Linked DNA regions of Homo sapiens: regions 1 and 2 are each linked to region 3. The links are contacts of gene promoters, found by promoter capture Hi-C in human tissues and cell types (Jung and others, 2019). All regions are on one chromosome and are shown on one strand. The core of a region is centred on a gene start or on the middle of the fragment in contact, and the rest is flanking DNA. Distances in the headings are between cores, read along the strand shown. Region 1 overlaps LINC02642 (long intergenic non-protein coding RNA 2642). Region 2 overlaps SFMBT2 (Scm like with four mbt domains 2). Region 3 holds the start of PRKCQ (protein kinase C theta).

Region 1 (2,700 bases), core at 76-2,575, 870 kb before region 3:
CCATTTCAAAAATAAATAAATAAATAAATGAATAAAATATATATATATTAAACTTGAATATGGTAAAACATAATAAAGCCATATGACAAACTGAGAAAAAAATTTGCAATGCAAAAGATAAAGATTATCTTATAAAACCTATTAAGAGATTTTTATAAATAATAAAAAACAAATGGACAAAGGCAGGTAGGTAACATAAAAATCATTATATACAGAGTTCCAAGATGAAAAGATGCTCTAACATGCTGACAATTAAGAACTACAAATGGAACTGAGACACGGTTTTTTTACCAATCACCTTGACAAAGTTAGGTGCTAGCAAGGGCATGAGAAACCAACACTCAAGTGCACGGTAGATGAGAGTGTAAATTAGCACAGCATCCTTGCAAGTGTTTGTTTCGTGTTAAGATAGAGTGTTATTTGGTGATATCTAACGAAATTAGAAAATGAATACGCCCTTTGATCCAGCAATTTCAGTTTTAGGAATTTATTCTGCAGATATGCTGAAAATGCGCATAAAGACGTATGTAAAAGCAAAGCCATTGCTGCATTGTTTGCCACAGCAAGAACAGTAACTGAAAATAACTCGAATATCCATAATCGAGGCTGGTTCAAAATGTATAGCACGTCATTCCAGTGGAGTGCTCCAGAACTGGAAGGAAACGAATAGAGCTGTGTGTGCTGATACAGAGAGATTGTCGAGGTGTATCACCAGGCATACAAATCAAGACATAGAATAATGTGATTTCTGTGTCCCCATTTGTATTGTGTGTCCGCAGGGACAGTATCTGGAAGGTACACCAGGAACTGCTGAGGAGTGGAACTAGGACTCTGAGACAAAAGGGGTTTGCTTTTCATTTTAAACTGTATTATTATTTGAATTTTTTAAAAATCAAGGACTGTTCAGGTGCAATGGCTCATGCCTGTAATCTTAGCACTTTGGGAGGCTGAGGTGGGTGGATCACTTGAGCCCAGGAGTTTGAGACCAGCCTGGACAACATGGTAAGACCCTGTCTCTACAAGACAAAAAAAAAAAAAAATGCCGAGCGTGATGGTGTGTACGTGTGGTCACATTTACTCAAGAGGCTGAGATGGGAGGATCACTTGAGCCCAGGAGGTTGAGGCTACAGTGAACTGGGATTGTGCCACTGCACTCCAGCCTGGATGAGAGAGTGAGACTCTGTCCTCCAAAAAGAAGTCAAGGACCATGTGATTTTCCTAAATAGAGGGAGTAGGTTATCACTACGTTACGGAATAGGACATTTAGCAATGTTTATTACTTACTGACTTATATTCATGGCAGACCACATCACATTCTTTTTGAATATTCATATTGAGCCTGTTATGAAGCATTTCACATAGGAAAAGCAATGTGTGAATCAATGAGGAAATGAAACTATGTATTTATTGACGGTATTTGTGAGATATGCAAGTGTGCAGAGTCTTCTGATAACCTCAGAATGCTGATACATTTAGCAAACCTCATTCTTAAAGTTGGCCAGATAATGACTTATTTTGCTGAAGTCTCCAAAAAAGCTGAGTTGTGAAGCCTTTGAAAAAGTATCAATGAACTTTTTCTTTCAGGTGGGGCTGAGCTGTTGTTCTAGAAGAAAAAAGGATGTCTTGTCCTGTGTGAACTGGAACAGCGCTTAGAAATCGAGGAGCGTGGCCCTGGGAACAGAGGCTGTGTGCTGTTGTTTTTGCTTCCTCATTAATGAGCATGGGCCTTCAGTGAGCTCCTTTCCCTTGCTGGCCTTCATTTGTAAAATGTTGGCTGACGGCTAAGGGTGTTTATTCCTCTAAAATCACCTAATTAGAAGAGAAGAAAGGAAAATACAAAACAAAATTAAATATAAGCAGCATGTTCCACATTTTAGACTTACTTAGATTCTTATCTCTCTGCAATAATCCTAATGCTAATTCACTTTCTCAGAGGTGTCCAGCGCAGGATGGGCTTAGATCATCCGTGGAATTGCTTGTTCTATAAGCTTTAGTTACTTTGATGACTGGAAGTATGTAAGTTCAGAGACATGCATTAAATACATGTTTCTGGTTTTCCCCAAATGACCCATGGACAGATAGGTGCCTGTATTTATTTTGTGTCAAATTTCATCTTATTCATTTAGTTGGAGACATAGTTATCTGATGGGTTCTCTGGGGTAATCATTTAGAACTCCTGAACTTTAGCAAGAAGCTGTAAGAAAGTCCAAGTTCTTTTTCTTAAAACTTCAAATAAGGTTCCCCAGTGAGTCTGGGGAAGGCCATGACATTGTCAGAAAAGCTGTTCCGTATCTGTGCCTCCGAGGTTCCTGCACGGCACTGCTGAATGGCCAATTTGCTGCGAATACGCATCGATCGTCTGATGCACGGCGCTCTGCACTGAGGACACCGTGAAGATGAACCGTGGTTCATTCCAGGGGTTAGCTGAGTTCTGAAACTGGAAAGTGAACGACCATTTATCAGTAGGTGAAACAGAACTGTGCTGGAACACAGCCAGCGGGAGTTCAATTAGGCAGAAACAAATCGGGGGGAAAGGAAGGGATGGCGTTCTGCATGGGGCTCAGGCACCATCTCCTTAGAAACGGCTGCTGCAAAGCCGCCGCAATAAATGCTCTGCTGAGTCTGTCCACAGCCCCACCCGGTAGAGAGGCCACTAAGGGACAAAGCCAGGAAACTCTGGCAGCTTTCTCTGCCACAGAA
Region 2 (2,700 bases), core at 102-2,601, 810 kb before region 3:
CCTCCCAAAGTGTTGGGATTACAGGCGTGAGCCACCGCACCCAGGCAGGATACTATTTTTTGAATGTCAAATAAAGAAAAGGTATAAAGGGTTTAGATGTTTTCTCCTGCCCTGCTAGTAAACCAGCTTAGCGGACTTGAGAGCATGTTTTCAGGGGGGTCATGAGCCTCAACTGTGTCCCCATATTTTTGACCCTATAATTTAACTTCTGGGATTCTACATTAAGGAGACATCAGAGATGTAGGATTTCTGACTGAGAGTCGTGACTAGAGTGCTACTTACCATGGTGAAAAAATAATATAAACAGCTTTAATGGGCGGCAGCAGAGGCATGGTAAATACATGACCTTATTCATTTTATAATAAAAATTATCCAACCATTTCAAGTCATGTTTTCAGAGAATCTTAATGACGCGAGAAATTCCTTCTGTGTAATGCAAAATGAAAAAATGGATTGGAATTCCGAATTCTCTGTGAACTAAACAACAACAACAAAATCCACAGAGAAACTATCAGGAGGAGATACTATAGAAACATAAAATTGATTATCACTGAGTATTAGAATTACAAGTGATTTTAATTTCTTTCTTTATAATTTTACTTTTCAAGATTTCTACCAAGAGCATGTCTATCTCTTATAGGAAGGAAAAAACTAAATGTTGTTGAAAAAGTCAAAGTGGGACACATCGTTTGCAAAGTGAATCAATTTTGCAGTCACCTGGGTGGACGTAGGGGGAAGTCTTCCAGTGGCACGGCCATTGCCCTCCAGAGTCATGTGAGCTTTCACTCTGCTACTGTTTTTTTTTTTTTTTTTGAGACAGAGTCTCGCTCTGTTGCCCAGGCTGGAGTGCAGTAGCGCTATCTTGGCTCACCACAACCTCCACCTCCTGGGTTCAAGCGATTCTCCTGCCTCAGCCTCCCGAGTAGCTGGGATTATACGCACGTGCCACCATGCCCGGCTAATTTTTCTATTCTTAATAGAGACAGGGTTTCACCATGTTGGTCAGGCTGGTCTCAAACTCCTGACCTCGTGATCCACCCGCCTTGGGCTTCCAAAGTGCTGGGATTACAGGCGTGAGCCACCACGCCCAGCCACTGTGCTACTCTTTCAGTGGCTTTCTTGTTGGTCTTTGTATTATTACTCTTCAGTTTTATTGATTGATTGATTGATTGACTGAGTGAGTCGGAGTCTCACTCTGTTGCCCAGGCTGGAGTGCAATGGTGCGATCTCAGCTCACTGCAACCTTAGCCTCTCAGGTTCAAGTGATTCTCCTGCCTCAGCCTCTCAAGTAGCTGGGATGACAGACACGTGCCACCAAGCCCTGCTAATTTTTGTATTTTTAGTGGAGATGGGGTTTCACCATGTTGGTCAGGCTAGTCTCGAACTCCTGACCTCAGGTGATCCTTCTGCTTCAGCTTCCCAAAGTGCTGGGATTACCGGCATGAGCCAACGCACCAGGCCTTGAGTTCTATTTAAAATGATTGATTTGATGCATTTAAATTTTACAGTCTCAGATTACTGTTCTGTAGTGTCTAGTTAGAGGCAAATGGGTAATGAGGAGTCATAAGACTTGAGCAAACTTTTCCCCTTTTAATAAGTGTCTATAAGCCACTGACATTTAACTGATTTATTAATAGCCATATTCATGGACTTTTTTTTCTTTATAGAAAAACTTGGTACATGACTACATTTTTGAGGCGGAATGATTTTCCTGAATTTATAAATGAATGAAAAAAAGCAAATAGTCTTTGTATGACACACGTAATAGTTTCTAAGATGTTTCTCCTTTGACATTTTCCATTGATATAAAAATGCAGCTGATTTAATAAAAACCTATGCTGTGTTAGGAAGTTTGCCGTGAATCATTTGTGGAATATTAGGGGGAAACTGTTAAGTCTCCTTTTGAAGTTTCTTAGATTTAAAAATTCATGAGTTTTAACTAGCTTGACATTATTACATTAAAACTTTTAAGACAGCCAAGAATTGATGGTTGTTTAGGACATGTTCCAAGCCCTCAAATACGGCTCTCCAGTGCAGTGGCTTGCTGGGCTGCCCACCTTCTACCCACATGTGCCTAGTTCAATTCAAGGTCATTAAAATTAAAATTCAGGTCCTCAACAGTACTAGATACGCTTCCAGTGCACTGTAGCCAACGTGTGGCTAGTGGTTACTGTACTGGACCAAGCAGATATAGATCAGGCAGTGCTGGTCTAGATGCATTCAACATAGATAATGAGCCCCCAGTTATGTTTGGCTAGTTGAAGAGTAATATCTAATGCATGTTCTTTCTCACTCGTGTTCTTCCTAACAAGGCTTTGCTTAGCCTGTGCTAGCATTACTCTATTCTTTGACTATACCTCAAGTGAAAGGAGAAGGAAAGATAGGGTTGAGAGGGGAGGATGCTTATTGTATTAAATTTGCTTCAAACATAAAGGGATAATCTGAATGCAGAAAATGTACAATGAATCATAATAACACCTGGATTGATAAAATTTTAGATTTGAAAGGGGTGATTGCATCTCATCAAGCTTTCTGATTGAACTGATGAGAAATTCAAGGAGTAGAGAGGTTAAGTAATTTGTTTATGTCACACAGCCACATAGCTTGTTATTCCCTTATTCTGCAAGCTCTCTGTTCTTTTCACTGGTCCAAGACAACTCTTGTAAGAAGTTCCAGTACTAGAATTCTGTTGTCCAACAG
Region 3 (2,700 bases), core at 155-2,654:
ACACTTCGGGGCCTCAGTTTTTCATCTGCCTTCCCAACCTCTGAGGTTCTTTTTAGTTGACATCCTACATTCCCATGATCAGAAGGCTGCTAATTCAACTTTTGGCTTTTGTTAAACCTTTTTTTTTTTTGAGGCAGAGTTTTGCTGTCACCCAGACTGCAGTGCAGTGGTGAGATCTCAGCTCACTGCAACCTCCTCCTCCCAGGTTCAAACGATTCTCCTGCCTCAGCCTTCTGAGTAGCTGGGATTACTGGCACGTGCCACAACACCCAGCTAATTTTTGTATTTTTAGGAGAGACACGATTTTGCCATGTTGGCCAGGCTGGTCTCAAACTCCCAGCCTCAAGCGATCCACCCGCCTCAGCCTCCCAAAGTGCTGGCATTACAGGCATGAGCCACCGCACCTGGCCTGTTTTGTTTTGTTTTAATCGTTTTTAATGTCTCTCTCAAAACAAGAAAAGAAAAAAGGACAAAAAATTACTATTTTACTTCTCAGATTAATCTGATCTTAGTACACTACAGCAACAAAAGTCTTAATCAAGTACGTTTTAATTATTTGGTGTCATCATTGCAAGGAAACCATTCAGTAAGAATATTAGTAACCAGACATATAATTTTCTAACCTGAATGAGAAATTAGTTACATGGAGTATAGAAAAAGAAACCACCCCGTTTATCCTCCCTGTGACCATCATTAGTATTACCCGCAAGGCATAAAAAGTCCTAAAATGACACGCACGGCGGCAACATTACCTTTGCAGCTTCAAGCACAGTAAAGTTGAAAGCAGTCCCACCTTGGCAATTGTGTATAAAACGACAATGTGCAGATACAGGAAAAGTCCCAGGTCCGAAGCCACCTAGGAACGATGACCCCAGGACAGAAGTGTGCCCAAACAAATGCCTGGGGTAGGTCATTTTAAAAGGAACAATGTTTACAAGCCCTTTCTAGCGTGAAAAACAGAGAAAAGAGACCCAGCTCTTTCCACCCAATCTGCTGGAGCGCCGTTTCGTTTTCAGTTGGGCGAGAGGGAGACATGTGGCCTCTCGCCCCTTTTCCTGACTCTGAGAATGTGGCCGGAGCCGGGGCGCTCCTGCTCCGCCTCGCCGCCCTCCCGGGGCTGTCCTGGGCCCTCCGGCCGCCGCCTCCCGCTCCAGTTCGCAGCTGGGCGACAAGTGGCTGGTAAGGAGGCCAGGGGCGGGAGCCTGGGCGCGGGACCGGGGGCGCACGGCGGGGGACCGAGCGCGCGTCCCTGGCTAGAGGTGCCGGGTCCCGGGAGGCCGGGCTGGCGGGGAGGCTGGCGAGCGCCCCCTGGCGGGCACCGCCTTCTAGGCGCACCCGCAGTGCGCCGGGCCCGCCAGCCCCGCCAGCCCCGCCAGCCCCGCCAGCCCCGCCAGTCCCCGCGCAGTCCCCGCGCAGTCCCCGCGCAGTCCCAGCGCCACCGGGCAGCAGCGGCGCCGTGCTCGCTCCAGGTAGGGCCCCGCGCCCCGCGCCGCCGCCGGGAGGGAGCGGGCTGGAGGGGCCGAGACCCGTGGCGAGAAGGGCTACCCGGGCCCCTCGGAGAGCCTCCGGGAAGGGGTGAGGGCTGCCGGGTGAGCAGGCGGAGTAGGAAATGGAACCAAGCGGGCGCAAGAGCGCACCGGGAAGAATTTCCCCGCTGGGTTTCTGGGACGCAGGTCGCACGGGATGCGGGATGCTGGCGACCTTAGCCGGGTGGGGGCCGCCGGCCTGGGGGCGCTTCCTCCTTTCTTCTCCCTTTTCCTTCTCACCTGAACGAAAGGGGGCCTGCGGGGAGGGAAGAAGGTGGAAAGTTTTTGTATTCTTGGTAAAAAAAAAAAAAAAAAATGCGTGAGGAAACATGTTTTCTGGAGATGGTATCCTGTCCACAGGGGAGCATAACCCCTTTTCTGGGAATGTATTGGAGCACGGACGGGGGTGCCATTGCTCAGGCTTCTAAACAAGCCAAGTTTCTGGTCAAGGGCCTGGGGGAGGGGGAGGCAGGTCTTTGAAAGATACCAAAAAAAAAAAAAAAAGAAAAATCTGCGTGCTCATTCCTGTAGCCTCAAGTGAGGTTATTCCCCAGCTTTGAGGGCCAGGTTAACCAAGCAAAGTTTGTGCAATAAAGTATCTTTGTGGTATTGGATTTTCGAGAGCCACCGTTATCAATGGGAGAGTGACTGTTGAATGCTACAGGCGTGTGCACTCCCCCGTGGGCATGAAGAGAGGTCCACGGGCTGGCTGGATTGGGAGACTCCGGTCATTTCTGCAAGGAGAGCGCCACAGGACTGCCTTGTTCCCTGGGCTGTCCTGCCCCTGTGCGGGCTGGACGTGGTGCTATAAAAGATGATTCAGGAGTGGCACAGGCTGAGGGGGACTAGGCTGGAGAAGGTGGAGGGAAGAGGGAGCACTCCGTGCCCTCTTCCTGTCCATGGGAAATGAACCATCTGTGCCTGGTGTCCAAGTCCTTGACGTTCCAGTTGCCCTTTGAGAGCACACCTCAAGCCTGCTGAATTCTTTTAAGAACCACCTACAAGATCTGAGAAGTCCGCCCATGCTTTCTGTCAACTCCGGCCTCTTTGACCTTTTCTTTTGCCAAAGAAAATTCTAAACCACTGGGATTCGTGAGGCTCCGTGAGAGAGGCAAGAAGCCTGGAGGGTCCACTCCGTTGCTCTTTTCCCTTGGTTTGCTCCCTAGAAGCCATG

What was found. The method cuts DNA at HindIII sites, captures the fragments that hold promoters and counts their contacts. A contact is called where the count stands out against the background at its distance.
Region 1: a contact is called between a fragment that was not itself captured here and the fragment with the promoter of PRKCQ in region 3, in 1 of the 25 tissues and cell types used here (hippocampus).
Region 2: a contact is called between a fragment that was not itself captured here and the fragment with the promoter of PRKCQ in region 3, in 1 of the 25 tissues and cell types used here (H1 embryonic stem cells).

Annotation. Positions count from the first base shown.
Region 1 is chr10:7,444,677-7,447,376 of GRCh38, reverse strand. It overlaps LINC02642 (long intergenic non-protein coding RNA 2642), which reads left to right. Exons shown (of 4, transcript NR_184109.1): 4 at 1,585-2,700. Among named protein-coding and RNA genes, the nearest start is that of LINC02642, 27 kb to the left of the region's middle. RefSeq lists enhancers at 13-512, 1,597-1,696 and a silencer at 1,569-1,775. The HindIII fragment of the contact is 5,048 bases long and covers 1-2,700 here.
Region 2 is chr10:7,389,579-7,392,278 of GRCh38, reverse strand. All of the region lies in intron 1 of SFMBT2 (Scm like with four mbt domains 2), which reads left to right. Among named protein-coding and RNA genes, the nearest start is that of SFMBT2, 20 kb to the left of the region's middle. The HindIII fragment of the contact is 5,344 bases long and covers 1-2,700 here.
Region 3 is chr10:6,578,980-6,581,679 of GRCh38, reverse strand. PRKCQ (protein kinase C theta) reads left to right here and starts at 1,404. Exons shown (of 18, transcript NM_006257.5): 1 at 1,404-1,469. It overlaps PRKCQ-AS1 (PRKCQ antisense RNA 1), which reads right to left and starts at 1,255. Exons shown (of 2, transcript NR_036503.1): 1 at 753-1,255. RefSeq lists silencers at 993-1,142, 1,153-1,402. The HindIII fragment of the contact is 11,498 bases long and covers 1-2,700 here.